Regions from separate parts of the Homo sapiens genome. Here region 2 is linked to region 1. Evidence: promoter capture Hi-C in human tissues and cell types (Jung and others, 2019). All regions are on one chromosome and are shown on one strand. The core of a region is centred on a gene start or on the middle of the fragment in contact, and the rest is flanking DNA. Distances in the headings are between cores, read along the strand shown. Region 1 holds the start of ZNF287 (zinc finger protein 287). Region 2 overlaps CENPV (centromere protein V).

What was found. The method cuts DNA at HindIII sites, captures the fragments that hold promoters and counts their contacts. A contact is called where the count stands out against the background at its distance.
Region 2: a contact is called between a fragment that was not itself captured here and the fragment with the promoter of ZNF287 in region 1, in 2 of the 25 tissues and cell types used here (spleen and thymus).

Annotation. Positions count from the first base shown.
Region 1 is chr17:16,564,551-16,572,021 of GRCh38, forward strand. It overlaps ZNF287 (zinc finger protein 287), which reads right to left and starts at 4,654. Exons shown (of 6, transcript NM_020653.4): 1 at 4,402-4,654; 2 at 2,779-3,379; 3 at 1,975-2,072. The coding sequence starts at 3,181. RefSeq lists enhancers at 3,717-4,218, 4,219-4,718. The HindIII fragment of the contact is 5,740 bases long and covers 2,274-7,471 here.
Region 2 is chr17:16,345,111-16,352,581 of GRCh38, forward strand. It overlaps CENPV (centromere protein V), which reads right to left. Exons shown (of 5, transcript NM_181716.3): 2 at 4,821-4,919; 3 at 3,506-3,575. Among named protein-coding and RNA genes, the nearest start is that of CENPV, 4.6 kb to the right of the region's middle. The HindIII fragment of the contact is 6,129 bases long and covers 923-7,051 here.

The DNA of each region.
Region 1 (7,471 bases), core at 3,404-5,903:
TCAAGCTGTGCTTTAAGAATAAATCCAACATGTTATAATTAAAATGTTAAGATATTTTTATGTGTTCTATGGTTAAATTCAGTCTTTCTTTTTAAAAATATAACAGATACCAATAATCACAGTGTTGAACTGCTGCACTGTTAAATACATTTCACAATCTGGTAAGGTTAGTGCTTTTCTTGTTTGCTCCTTTTGTTAAAAATATAGTATTATCTTACATGTTTCTTTTTTCTCTTTTTTTATTTGAGAAAGAGTCTTGCTCTGTCGCCCAGGCTGGAGTGCAGTGGCCTCCTGAGTAGCTGGGATTACAGGTGCACGCCACCATGCCCAGCTAATTTTTGTATTTTTAGTAGAGACAGGGTTTTGCCATGTTGGCCAGGCTGGTCTCCAAACTCCTGACCTCAGGTGATGCAGCTGCCTTGGCCTCCCAAAGTGATAGGATGACAGGTGTGAGCCACTGCGCCTGGCCACGTGTTTATTTTTTCATATAATTGTCAGTATCTTTAAAAAAGTCATATTGGAGGCCAGGCGCAGTGGCTCATACCTGTAATCCCAGCACTTTGGGAAGCCAAGGCAGGAGGATCACTTTGAGGCCAGAAGTTTAAGACCAGCCTGGGCACATAGTGAGATCCCATCTCTTAAAAAATCTTTTCTTTTAAATCATACTGGGATTTAAAAATTGTATTAAGTTTATAACTTAGGGAGAACTGATGACTTTATAATATTCAAGGTTTCTTTCATGTTCTACAAAATATTAGACATGAAAGTACTGCAATATTTATATTATGCTTAGTTTTAGATATTTTAAATTTTTTTCGGGGGTGTGATACTGGAGGCATTTTTTTCATTTTATCATTTATCTCATTTTTATATGTATATATGTAGATATATATATAAGTATATATATGTAAGTGATTGATTTTTGCATGTCATTTTCTGTAGTCATTTTATCCAATTTTTCTATTAGTGTTTCTAACACTTTTTCCCTTGATTTTGTTAGGCTTTCCAGGTAAATGTTCACACTATCAATGAATAATCATTTTAACTTGGTTACCAAAAGCTTTCCAATTTCAGAAAAACCAGTTATATTTTTACAGTAAATCTTTCTCTTAAGGTATCTTGAGTTACTATTCTTTAAAATAATATAGACTCATGGCCGGGCGCGGTGGCTCACACATGTAATCCCAGCACTTTGGGAGGCCAACACGGGTGGATCACCTGAGGTCAGGAGTTCAAGACCAGCATGAGCAACATGGCGAAACCCTGTCTCTACTAAAAATACAAAAATTAGCCAGGCATGGTGGCATGCACCTGTAACCCCAGCTACTCCAGAGGCTGTGGCATGAGAATCACTTGAACCCAGGAGGTGGAGGCTGCCGTGGACCAAGATCGCACCACTGCACTCCAGCCTGGGCAACAGAGTGCGACTCTGTCTCAAAAAATATATATAAATTCATGACCAACAGTAATATGACAGAATGCATGGCCTTTAACTACTTGTTAATGAGGAAAAATAATAGTAACAATCATCTATTAATTGCTTAACTGTAATCCAGGCTAACTACAAGTCTCATAATATTTAATACTCACAACCTAAGAGGTAAATTCTATTTATGAGAGTAGAATAACTCAGGCTAAGAGAGGTTAAGTATCTTGTCCCAAATTGCAGTTCCAATGGTAGAGCCGGGAAACAAAACCTAAATCCATCTGGCTGTGGAGGTCAATCTCGTATTCTCTATGTGATATTGCTGACAAAGTCAAAGTAAGGAAAGACATATCAAGGGAAGGCAATGGAAGCACCTTTTCTTTATAGTACATTCACCTACCTTAACAGACCAAGATAACATAGGAGAGAAACTGGGGCTTAAGTCCTTGATAGAGCTTCTGGGGGCACAGTAGTTATAGGGCCAGGTCAGAAAATGTCCTCACACACTAAGAAGGCATTTTAAAATCAGAAAAGACAGTCACACTCACTTTGGTCACCAAGTCATTTAGCCATCCTGTCTGGAAAGCATGTTTTCCTCTGGGGTCTTCCTCTGGGGTATCTTGGGAAAGGGTAGAGTTTTGAGGAGCTAGAGAAGAGAAAGAGGTCATGAGGGAGATTAGTCCTTTCTGAATAGCCTAGGAAACCCCTCACCAAATAGATGCCTACACTTTCTTAAATCGAGAAGTAAGAAGGAAATCAAAAACAGCACTCCTACTTCAAAGCATCAGAGGAAAGGGCCAATGACTTGTCCTAAGACATCAAAACAGACTTCAAAAACAAGCTCGCTCTAAAAATCTTAAAGAGTATGAACAAAATTCACATTTTAACTAAATCCTTATGTGATATTAATTTTGTGAGTTATCTCTTAATAAGGGAATGTTCTCTAGACCCTTTCTTCCTTTTTTGGAAGTATTTTATTGTAAAATTCAATTCACAAAGCAAATGATTTATTAGTAGAATGGTGCAAACCTCTGAAGGTACTTTCTGAGGGCTCACACAGTGGTAATTTGGTTGCGTCTGGTCATTATTTCAAGACGTTTTTCTTGGGGGTTTAGATAATGTGTGTTTGCTCCCAAGCAATCTGGAAGGAGAACACCATGCAGGATGGAGCTCATGTTAAAGCCTTGTTCTCACTCACTAACCTTTGTTCTCCCCAGTTTCTTTCTTTTTAAAAAATGCATCCTGGACCTCTCAGTGCTCTCCCTGATTTCTTTAAAGGAGCTGCTCAGATGTGCTAGTTGTCTTCTTTAACCACCCAGGGATTCCTCCCCTCTCTGCTCTATGATTCTCACCTTCCTCTTCTAGAATCTGAGTCAAATCCTCCACCAGAGTCACTGCTTCCTCGCTGCTCTCTGGATACTGGGACTTTACCCAAGTCCTAACCTCACCAGGCAGGATGGTCAGGAATTGCTCCAGCACCAGCAGCTCCAAAATTTGTTCCTTTGAGTGAATCTCAGGTCTCAGCCACTTAAGGCAGAGCTCTCGGAGTTGACTCAATGCCTTTCGAGGACCAGCCAGGTCTGGGTATGGAAAATTCCTAAAATTCTGTCGACAGGTCTCAGTGTCACGCAAGAATCTTGAAGTAAGGATTTCCTTCTCAACATTGTAGGGTCCACTCTGAGCCTTGTCTGACTTCCACCTTAGAAGGATTTGAGAACGTGAAGAACTGTTCATCCTCTTGCTTGAGGCTAACATTGCTACAGACAGGAGAGTCAATCTGGCAATATCCTTTATTTCTCCAGTAGTGAGCCAACTGCTTGAAGTCTCATGCTAGAGTCACAAGGACACTATATCAAAGGCTGCTGCAGCCGAGGGCAGAACAGAATCAAGGTAGAGTTAGCAGCCTTAGTGACAAATTCTGAGCCCAGAACTTGCAGGGATGGATAAGAGACCCTGAAACACAAGCATGGACCACAAGGTCAAGAATCCCTGGTGTACTCTACTATACATATACACACACAGAAACAGACTCGCAGTGTGCATAGATGAACACACATAAGCTTTACCTTGTCTTCCTCCCCTATATCCTTAGACTTGTAAGGGAACTGCCATCTGCTTGGGGTTGGTGGGGGATGGAGCTGCTATTAAAAAGGTAGTGTCAGAGGCAATGACTCGAATCTAAGCCAAACAACAGATTAAACCTCTAACCTGTTGTAACAAAAATTAAACATTTTTATAGAGAAAATAGTTTCATTATTTTAGTCACTGATGTTACAGAAGCTGTAATGACTGAACGGACTCTCAACAATAACAAAGTGAATCTGTTACTTGGAAGAAACTAGGAGAATTTCTTCTTAATACAGTGCTCAAGGTTCCCAAGGGAACTGTCAGGGGAAAGGGCGAGCCATTTATCTGCGTTGCATGTTAATGCCAGCCGATTCTAGCCTTTCACTATCAGAGGGTTGGGAAGACCAGCGGGTTGGACTGGAAAAGAGTGAAGAGGTTGGTGTGACTTCAAGTCCTTTAAGTGCTTCTATAGGAGACAGTTCTTTAGGGATATATTCGAAACCAGGATTCTCGAAGGAAACCTTAGAACCGGCCTGATCTGGAGGAGAACCGACACCACCTCTCCCCAGGCTCCAGCTCCGAGCCCTGCTGAGGCACAGTCGTGCCACCAAAGACAACTGTTTACAAGGCCCTGCGGAGGTGATGCGACAGCCTTGCCTTGCCTCCTGTCGCCTCCCCTTCCCGGCCAAGTCCCTCTGCCTCTTACTCCTCTTCAGCCGCAGGGTCGAGGTCGAGGGCAGCGGGGGAGTCGGGGACCGTGCGACGCGCAACGCTGGGACTGGGCCCACAGCAGCCTCCACCCCGTCTTTGCCCTCCCGCAAGCCACGAGCACGGGAGCCCGCGCGTGGACGGGCTCGGGCTGTCACTGATCGCGCGGACACTCGCGCGCTGCGCCCGGACATCAATACCTGTCGCTGGGACCCGGCCGACGGGCAGCCGGAGCGGCCCTAAGGCCACAGGCAACAATGGCGACGCTGGCACAGGCGCCTGCGTGGCGGGCTCAGTCCCGAGCGGCAGCGGATCCTCGGGCTCCGCCACTTCCCTTCCCCGCAAAGCACAGAGTGTCCCGGCCAGGAGCTGCACGTTCCAGCCCGGTCCTGAGAAGCCCGGCCCAGAAACCCCGGCGCCTCTGCTTAGCCGCGACCTCGCCTCGGCGTCACTGCGCATGTGCGCCAGAGGAACGCTGCGCGCCCGCAGAGCCAATCGGAGCCCAAGCTGCCGCCTCCCCCTCCCGCGCCTCTGGCCCTGGACCTGTCTCCATGGCAACCTCCTCCACCCATCGCTCTGACTTGCTTGTCAGCCTGCGAGGTTCCGAAGGGAACTTCAAAGTTTCCCCGGGCAGACGCAGGTCTGGTAGACGTCTTGGAGGCCAGGGAGGTGCCAGTAGCTGGAGGAGCGCCGGGAGTTGAAGCCCCGCGCCAACTACGCAGAGAAAACTGGGCGCCAGATTTCCTAGAGGAAGAATGGGCAGGGAAGATGTGGGTCTAAAGGCAGAAAGACTTAATGTGCGGTTTCGGGCTTTACTGTGCATACATACTAACTGTGAAAGGTTTTCACTTCCTCCTCAGGAATTTGATTCTGAGACTCTCAGATTGGGGGAAAAAAACCCATGTTCTTTCTTTCTTTCTTTTTTTTCTTTTGAGACGGAGTCTCGCTCTGTCGCCCAGGCTGGAGTGCAATGGTGCGAGCTCGGCTCACTGCAACCTCCGCCTCCTGGGTTCAAGTGATTCTCCTGTGTTCAAGTGATTCTCACTTGAACTTCCTGGGTTCAGCCTCCCGAGTAGCTGTTATTTCTAAGAGACACAAAACAAAAATACATAAAACACTGGAAAAATAAAAGCATAGAAAAACATATTCAAGGTGTTCCCGTTATCTACTGTTCTATTAACAAACCACCCCAAAACTTAGTGGTTTTGAAGGACAATCACCGTATTATGCTCATAAATTTCATGGTGAGGAATTTGAAAGGGGAACTGAGTGGGTGGGCCTTTGCCTCATTATGTCTGTAGCCTCTGTTGGGATGATTTGATGGCTGGGAGGGCCCGCTTCCAAGATGGCTTTTCCACTCACATGTCTACTGCTTGGGAGGAGATGGGCTAAAAGATGAACTCGGCTTGTGTTTGACCAGAGTGCCTCAATGTGGTCTCTCCAGCATAAAGGACTGAGGGCAGCTGGACTTGTTACATGGTGGCTCTGGGCTCCAAGAGTGAGCATTCCAGTGAACAAGAGAGAAGCGCCATGGCCAATTATAACATGGCCTTGGAAGTCACCTAACACCAATTCTGTCAGACTCTTGGTCAAAGCAATCACAAGCCTACAGAGAATCAAATGGAGGCAGAATCCTGTGAGGGTGGAGGAGGACTGTCAAAGACTCTTAATATCACCACACCAGGAAAATTTTAACAAAAAGAAAGTTGGACCGGGCGCGGTGGCTCACGCCTGTAATTCCAGCACTTTGGGAGGCCCAGGCAGGTAGATCACCTGAGGTCAGGAGTTTGAGACCAGCCTGGCCAACATGGTGAAACTCCGTCTCTACTAAAAGAACAAAAATTAGCCTGGTGTGGTGGCGCACGCCTGTAATCCCAGCTACTCAAGAGGCTGAGGCAGGAGAATCACTTGAACCTGGGAAGCGGAGGTTGCAATGAGCTGAGATTTTGCCACTGCACTCCATGTACTCCAGCCTGGGCGACACGAGCAAGACTCCATCTCAAAAAAAAAAAAAAACAAACTTGGGGAGTGTGATGGTCTTTTGATGTGTCAACTTGGCTAGGCTACAGTCTCTTGCTATTTAAGTAAACACGAATCTAGGTGTTGCTGTAAAGGCATTTTGTAGATGAGATTGAAGCCCATAAACCCAGTTGGACTAAGTAGCATGGGAGATTATCCTAGATAATTTGGGTGGGCCTGATTCAATCAGTTAAAAGCTTTCAAAAAAGAACCGAAGTTTCCCTGATGGAGAAGAAACTCCATCAGCGTACCACAGCTTCCAGCCTGCCCTTCCTGATGGGGTGCTCTTATGGACTTTGGACTCACCTGGTCACCCCCTCAATCGAGTAAGCCAACTCTTTGCCACAAGTATCTTAAATATCTACTGGTTCCGCTTTTTTGATTGAACCCTGACTGATACAAGTAATAATTCTAATATCTGATAAGCTAGAATTTGAGAAGATTAAAAGGGAATAAATAAGAGTGCTTGATGGAAAAGATATATTTATCATAAATATACAGCATGTCCCTAACACTAAGGCCTCAAAACATACAAAGCAATAGCTGACATACCTGTAGGGAGGAAAACATAAACCAACAACCAAAGCTGGAAACTTAATACGCCCTATAGTGCACACTGTGGTGCTGCCAGGATCCTCCTTCAGGGTTGAGGCATCCATCCCAGCAGCTGCCGGGTGAGTGGCTGCTGATGGCTCACAGCAAAATACTTCCTTGGGAGTTGTCCTAACTGCAGGGGGCTGCCTCTCACAAGTCACGTCTTCTCCCCGGGGGAAGTCCATATCCAAAGACTGCTCAGTGCAGGCCTCAAAGACCTGGCCCCCTGTCTTCAACTTGCAGCCTCTATAAAGGGCCATCTTGGCTTAAGAGTTCCCTGTGAGACCAACTGAGGCCTCTGTTGCAGTCATACAGCATTTAAACCTATTACTCTGTCCAGTTATCCTTATATCACTCCTGTACAGGCATTTTTTCTAGAGAACACTACCCAGTAATTACCTTGTATGCAATTCTCCATCTCAGAATCTATTTATAGGGAATCTGCCCTACACCAGTTGGTACCAGCAGTTGTTCCAAGAACGCAAACTCTAAAATGGAATTTTTTTCTTTTTGAGGTGGGGTCTTGCTCTGTCGCACAGGCTGGAGTGTAGTGGTGCAATCTCAGCTTACTGAAACCTTTGCCTCCCGGGTTCAGGCAATTCTCTCTGCCTCAGCCTCCTGAGTAGCTGGGATTACAGGCACCCACCACCACACCCG
Region 2 (7,471 bases), core at 2,737-5,236, 220 kb before region 1:
TTGTAGCCGGGTGTGGTGGCAGGCGCCTGTAGTCCCAGCTACTCGGGAGGCTGAGGCAGGAGAATGGCATGAACCTGGAAGGCCGAGCTTGCAGTGAGCCGAGATCATGCCACGGCACTCCAGCCTGGGCAACAGAGCGAGACTCCGTCTCAAAAAAAAAAAAAAAAAAAACACCTTTGGCCAGGCATGGTGGCTCATGCCTGTAATCCCAACACTTTGAGGCCGAGGCAGGCGGATTGCTTGAGCCCAGGAGTTCAAGACCAACCTGGGCAACATGGCAAAACCCTGTTTCTACAAAAAAATATAAAAATTAGCCAGGTGCAGTGGCACACATCTGTAGTCCCAGCTACCTGGGAGGCTGAGGTAGGAGCATCAGTTGAGCCTGGGGAAGTAGAGGCTGCAGTGGGCTGAGATCGCACCATTAAAAAAAAAAATCTTGAAATAACTTAATGGCAGGAGCTCTTCTGTAGGGCTCTTTGTACTAAGAGGCCATTTCCTATCTCCAGAAGAGACTGGGACCTTCTTGAGGACAGAGACCCATCTACACTATCCAGAGACATGTCAGTCTGGAGCGTGACAGCTCACAGCTTCCCTTAGGTCAACGGCATACAGAATTCAGCCTTGAGCCTTCCCTGATACATCACATCAGGGAGGGAAAGTGCTTGCTTCCCAGGGCCTATGTGGAGAGACAGTTCACCCAAGGGACTGGCTCTCCATGTCCCCAAACAGAACGGCTCAAGGTCTTAAGAAAACTGATGGCTGTGCTTAATTTATCCACAAAGGACAAACCAGGAAAAAAATATTTGCCAGACGTCATAGACAGGCTAATTTCCTTAATGGATAATACAAACGGGAGACTGGACAAAGGACATGAACGGACAGTTCAGATAGAAAGAAAAATAAATCACTCTTTAGCCTATGAAATGCTCACCAAAGGAACTTCAATGAGATGTATTTCACTGTCAGGTGGGCAAAATCAAAGCCGTTAACATGGTATTGACAAGTATGTAGAGAAATATGTGCTCACATATATCAGTCACAGGAACAGGAATTGGTACAATTTAGCAACATCTACCAAAATTTTAAAGTGTACATATGCTTTAGCACACAATTCCATTTCTTGAAATTTATTATACAGATATATTCCAAATGTCTCAATGACATAGGTATATAGATACTATAGCACTGTTTATGAAGGCTAAAGATTGGAAAAATTGAAAATGTCCCTCAATAGAGGACCGGTTAGGCATTATGGACACTCATAAAATGAAATATTCTCCAACTTTTGAGAAGAATGAGACAGCTCTACAAAACTAACATGGAACAATTGCCAAAGTTACAAAGTAAAGCAAGGTATAGGCCAGGCGCAGTGGCTCACGCCTGTAATCCCAGCACTTTGGGAGGCCAAGGTGGGCAGATCACTTGAGGTCAGGAGTTCAAGACCAGCCTGGCCAACATGGTGAAACCCTGTCTGTACTAAAAATGTAAAAATTAGCCAGATGTGGTGGCGGGCACCTGTAGTCCCAGCTACTCAGGAGGCTGAAGCAGGAGAATCACTTGAGCCTGGGAGGCGGAGGTTACAGTGAGCCGAGATCACACCACTGCACTCCAGCCTGGGCAACAGAGTGAGACTGTCTCAAAAAAAAAGTTAAGCAAGGTATAAAACAACGTACGTGGTATGCTACCATTTCTTTTTTTTTTTTTAAGGCTATATACTGGTATGTGTGGTGTTTTTGTTTTGTTTTGTTTTGTTTTTTTGAGACAAGATCTCACTCTGTTATCCAGGCTGGAGTGCAGTGGTATGACGACAGCTTACTGCAGCCTTGACCTCCCAGGATCAAGTGATTCTCCCACCTCAGCCTCCCGAGTACCTGGGACTATAGGCATGCAACACCACACCTAGCCGATTTTTTATTTTTTGTAGACATGGGGGTCTCGCTATGTTGTCCAGGCTGGTGTTGAACTCCTGGGCTCAAGTGATCTGCCTGCCTTGGCCTTCCAAAGTGCTGGGACTACAGGCATGAGCTACTGTGCCTGGCCTGTATGTGCTTTTATATGCATATGTATCTTTGAAGAGGGATCCAAGAAACAGTGGCTTACCTTTAGGGAGAGAAATCAGACAGCTGAAGGGGAAGGGGTGGAGGTTTCTTATCCTTGTTAACCCTCTTTACGCTTCCCCAGCCATACCGTCCAGAATTGTGCTTCCTATAGAAATAGCTCCCTGAGGAGCCTTGCTCACTCCATAGCCACTGCAGCACAGAAAAGCAGCGAAGGACTGCCAAGTGGTCCCAAGCCATCCAGCATTATCTGGATGGAATTAAAGCCCCGCCCAACCCCACATTACCCATAATGTGCTAAAAGTCTTTTTTAAAAAATCTGTATTCTTTAACCTGGAGATTTTCTTTCTCTCTTTTTTTTTAACTGCTCCTTGTAGAGCAGGGTGTAGGAAGTGTGCCCAGAATAGCCAGAGAACTTATTTCTAAGAGAATTGATCCTAAAGAAGAAATTTCTAAATTGTCAAAAATGTATACCAAGGAGGTTCACCAGTGTTGTTGATAATCAGAAAAAAACGGGACTCAACTGCAATGATGCAGAGACAGTGATGGGGTAAGTAGACCAGGAAATCGGCTGTGGGGAAGAGGGAGACTGGGGCATGGGGACAGTAGGGAAAGATTTTTCACTGTGTATATACACATTTTCTTCTACCTTTCAAATTTTGTACCAAGTACAAAAAATTCCCCAAAATAATAAAATTAAAGTTACAAATAAGTATATAAGCTTTTCATTGGGAAATGAGATAAGCAGTTTATCAACAAAAAGAATGGTAAAATTCTACTTAATAAACATAAGACAATAGGTTTAGATGTATTTCTCAGAGTAGAAAATAATACACAAAGACAGACACCAAAATATTAACAGTGGTTACCTTTAGTTGACAGGATTTGGGTGATTTTATTGTTTTTTGATTCTCTGAATTTGAAAATGTTTCCACAATACCAAATAGGCCTCCAAAAAATAAAGGTAAAAAATAACACAACCTTTTATTTTTTATTTTCATTTTTTTTGAGATGGAGTTTCACTCGTCACCCAGGCTGGAGTGCAATGGTGTGATCTCGGCTCACTGCAACCTCCACCTCCCAGGTTCAAGTGATTCTCCTGCCTTGGCCTCCCAAGTAGCTGGGATTACAGGCATGCACTACAACGCCCAGCTAATTTTTGTATTTTTAGTAGAGATAGGGTTTCACCATGTTGGCCAGGCTGGTCCTCAACTCCTGACTTCAGGTGATCCATCCATCTTGGCCTCCCAAAGTGCTGGGATTACAGGCGTGAGCCACTGTGCCGGGCCCACCTTTTAAATGTCAACCTGAAACCAAAGCCCGTGAGAGGCCCTGCTATGCTCCAGGCCCCTCCCATGCTACAGACGGCATGCTAACAGTTGGGTGGGGGGTCCTGTAAATCTCACCAATGGGTTCTGCACTCCTTGACCCTGCTCTTAAGCACTGACCTTCAGGAGCTTGAAGCGAGAAGCTGGAACAATGAAGTGTCTATTCTGCTTCTTCTTGCAAATGCTGCAACTACAGAAAGACAGAGCAAATTCCAGATTGTGAGCAGCCACCTGCATCCTCTATGCCTGAGCGGCCCAGCCATGAGAGCCAGCCGACCCCACAGATGATGCCCCTTTCAGCACCATCCAGGGCCGAGGAGCTGGGGCAAAGGCCTGGATAGCAGTGCCTCTGGTTTGCAGGTACAGCAGAGCCCAGGGGGGTCCCAAGTCAGCAGTCGAGGTTCTGCAATGCTCAGAACACAGGACCAACAGACAGGTCTGTACTGCCCACCCCTCAGTTCTTTACAGTGAAGAGAAGCGCTGGACTTCAGAGACACTTAGGAAACAAATTTCAGACACTGCTACAACCTGATGTCTCTGAGACATCCACACCAAAAATGGACAAGGAAGTTTAGGTTTCCCTCTTTCTTCATCACCACGTCACAAGAAGTCCAGCTCCAAGTAAAACACGTCCCCAGAATTACCATCTCTGGAATTAAACTGAAGTCCCCTCTTTTCAGGCCACCTTTGAAAAAGTTCTAATTTAGCACAGAATCCTCTCACAAGTTATTCCACAGTGCTTCTTTTCCAATCTGGACTCTATTGTTAGTAGCCTGGTCAGTTCTCCATTTGAGTAATTCCATCGTATGTGCTTATTATTCATATATAATTCCGGTACCTAGGGGCAAAAAGGACTGGATGCTGTTAAATAATTAGCTGCATGCCAACTTTGGGTCCCAAAGCCAGAGCCTGTCGTCCCTGCTCCATCATAACGCCGGGGAAGGTGGTACAAATCAGGCCCTCCACAGCCAGCAGTGCCATCTGCCTCAACCGAAGAGCAGAGCGAGAGTGGAGGGCCTGGGGAGCCTCCAGGTGTATACACCCTTTACTAACATACCCTCCAACTCTCCCCAACTCTAGACTTCTATGAAGATTCTGCCCAAGGCTTTCCACTCAGTACCCAGCCAGGCACACCTGCAGCTAACCGCCCCCGGCTCCTCAGCAGTGTCAGTCTGAGGGTGATGCTGCCACAAGCCACAAGCCCTGAGGACCCTGCTCTGTGTCACCTGGGCCATGCTGTTGAAGCTCTGTGATGAGCCATATAAAAGGAACAAAAATAGAACAATGAACCTTTCTGTCCCCATCACCTGACTTCAACAGTTACCAGCCCAAGGCCAATGTTTCCTCTGTACCCCAACTCCCCAGATTATTTTGAAATATTGCATTTTAACTCTGAAATTCTTTTAAGCCAATTTAGGGAAAAAAAAATACTCACTTGCAGTCAAATATATGCAAGTCTGCTGAGGCCCAAACTTCAAAACGAACTGCTCCACAGTGGCAGCCTCCTGTGTGCTTCACCAGGCCCTGGTATTCACTAAATGAAACAAAAATCAGAAAGATAATAATTTCTGAATAGCTGCCTCCTGCTCTCTTTTTGTTGCTGAAAGAAAGACAGAAGATTAGACAAAAGTCTTTTCTACATGACAACCAGATGCATTTCTGCTTTTAAGGAGGCACTGTCAATTTCCTAAGTGAAGAATGGTTTCAGCACCTTCTTTGTCCATGAGCTCTCTTTTCACCAATTTCTTAAATTATATTAAGTTGCAAAATAAAACATTCCAAACATTTCGAAAATGTGAGGGATCCTAACCCACCACCAGACATTTTTATTTATATGTCAAATACTAAATTTTTTTTTTTTTTTTTGAGATGGAGTCTCAGTCTATTGCCCAGGCTGGAGTACGGTGGCACGATCTTGGCTCACTGCAACCTCTGCCACCTGGGTTGAAGCAATTCTCCAGCCTTAGCCTCCCAAGTAGCTGGGATTACAGGCGCCTGCCACCGCGCCCTGCTAATTTTGTATTTTTAGTAGAGATAGGGCTTCACCATCTTGGCCAAGCTGGTCTTGAACTCCTGACCTTGTGATCCACCCACGGGGACTCCCAAAGTGCTGGGATTACAGGCGTGAGCCACTGCTCCGGGCCTCAAATACTAAATATTTTTATGAGCTAGGCACGAAGGAGAGAACACTAAACAAGATACAGCAGACACGATTGCTACCCTTACCGACCTTAACAATTTACTCAAATAATAATTAATTATGATTGTGATAAAGGAGGTACAGGCTGCTATGAAAAATAAGACTGTGTACTCAATCAAGTCCAGAGGTCCAGAAGAGCCTTTTGAGAAACTTAATAAAGGCTCTTATATTTTTGCTCTATTTCTTTCCAGTATTCTTCATACACATGCGTTTTACATAGTTGTAATACACATTACATAGAATTTTTTTTTTTTGAGAGGGAGTTTCATTCTTGTTGCCCAGGCTGGAGTGCAGTGACGCGATTTCAGCCCACCGCAACCTCCACCTCCAGGGTTCAAATGATTCTCCTGCCTCAGCCTCCCGAGTAGCTGGGATTACAGGCGCCCACCACCACACCCAGCTAATTTTGTATTTTTAGTAGAGACGGGGTTTCTCCATGTTGGTCAGGCAGTCTCAAACTCCCCACCTCAGGTGATCCACCCGCCTCGGCCTCCCAAAGTGCTGGGATTACAGGCATGAGCCACCTCACCCAGCCTACATACAATTTTAACCCTTTAAAGCTTATATATAAGCCAAACTCAGAAATGAACATTAAGATCTGATAAATGTCTTAAAATCGCTTTCCAAAAGGATTGAACACCCTTACCCGATAAATAAATGAGAAAACATTTCACTGTACAGTCTCAGGCAATAATTATAGGAAAAATAGCTCACTGCAGTTTTAATTTGCATGATTAAGACTGATCATTTTTTCATGTTTCTTTACGTTTATGTATTTTAATTTTTTCTGCACACATAATGCTTATTGTAAAAACTCCAAACTTCACACTATTTGAGAGTGCTCAAAGTGAAAGCCTCCTGTAATCTTTACACCCAGAGGGATCTACAGTTAATTATTTGTTATATATTCCCCCAAACTTTTTTCTACACAATATTTTAACGAAAATGGTACAGTTATACACACTTTTTGAATATAATTTAGTAGACTTTATAAGTACAAAGTCATGGCAATCTAGTGGGAGAAAAACAGCTTTTTTATGTCAATATTTTAAAACTTTTTCTTGACCATTTATCAGTTTGTCTTAAAATAAAAATTTATCTCAAATTTGAGTTTTACATTCTTCTTTTTTTCTGTATGCCTTGAAGACACCATGAGTTTTACATTCCTAAGGATCTTCGTATTCCTTCTGCCCAGAGGCAGCCGTCACCCTATAGGTGCTCAAATGTTTGATGGATGAACGTTTTTTAAAAATTCAGTGTGCAGTCCAAGATGAAAAACCAAAAAGTGAAGCACACAGAAAACCAAATATGTATCTTCTGTCGGGGACGACTCATCCTAAGAGAATTTCTTCCGCAAGAAGCTCAAAGGAACATGTTCAAGAAAAGAAGTAATTCTCAGGTTATGCAATTGCTAGGTTATTCTTGTCGGTTTTTTCCCCCTAGTGTTTTGATTGTTCTTTTTAATTCGTAAAATTGACACTGAAATATAATATCAGGGCGTTAAAATATCTCTCTGTAGCACAACTGTTCCCCGAGGCAGGAATCCAGATCGCATTTGGAGAAAAGAAGGCAGCCCTTTAACAGCCCAGTTAAAAGCTCTTTCCCAAATCGCGGACACTCGAGATGCTCCTCGGGCCATCTAAAAGACTGCGGAGCAGCCAGGAGGGCGAGCGGCAGGGAGCATTAGCTGGCTGAGCACATAAAAGCCTCCCTACGTAGGTATCCCCGCCGCCGCGCGAGGCCGGAGCATCTCTTCGCGCGCGCTTCTCTCCCGGATCAATAACCTCCGCCCCCTGCTCCCTCCCTGGCAGTGCCTGGAACAATGACGGGATTTTGCTTCCCAGTGAGTTCAAAACTATTCATGCTTCCTTCAACGCTTCTACCTT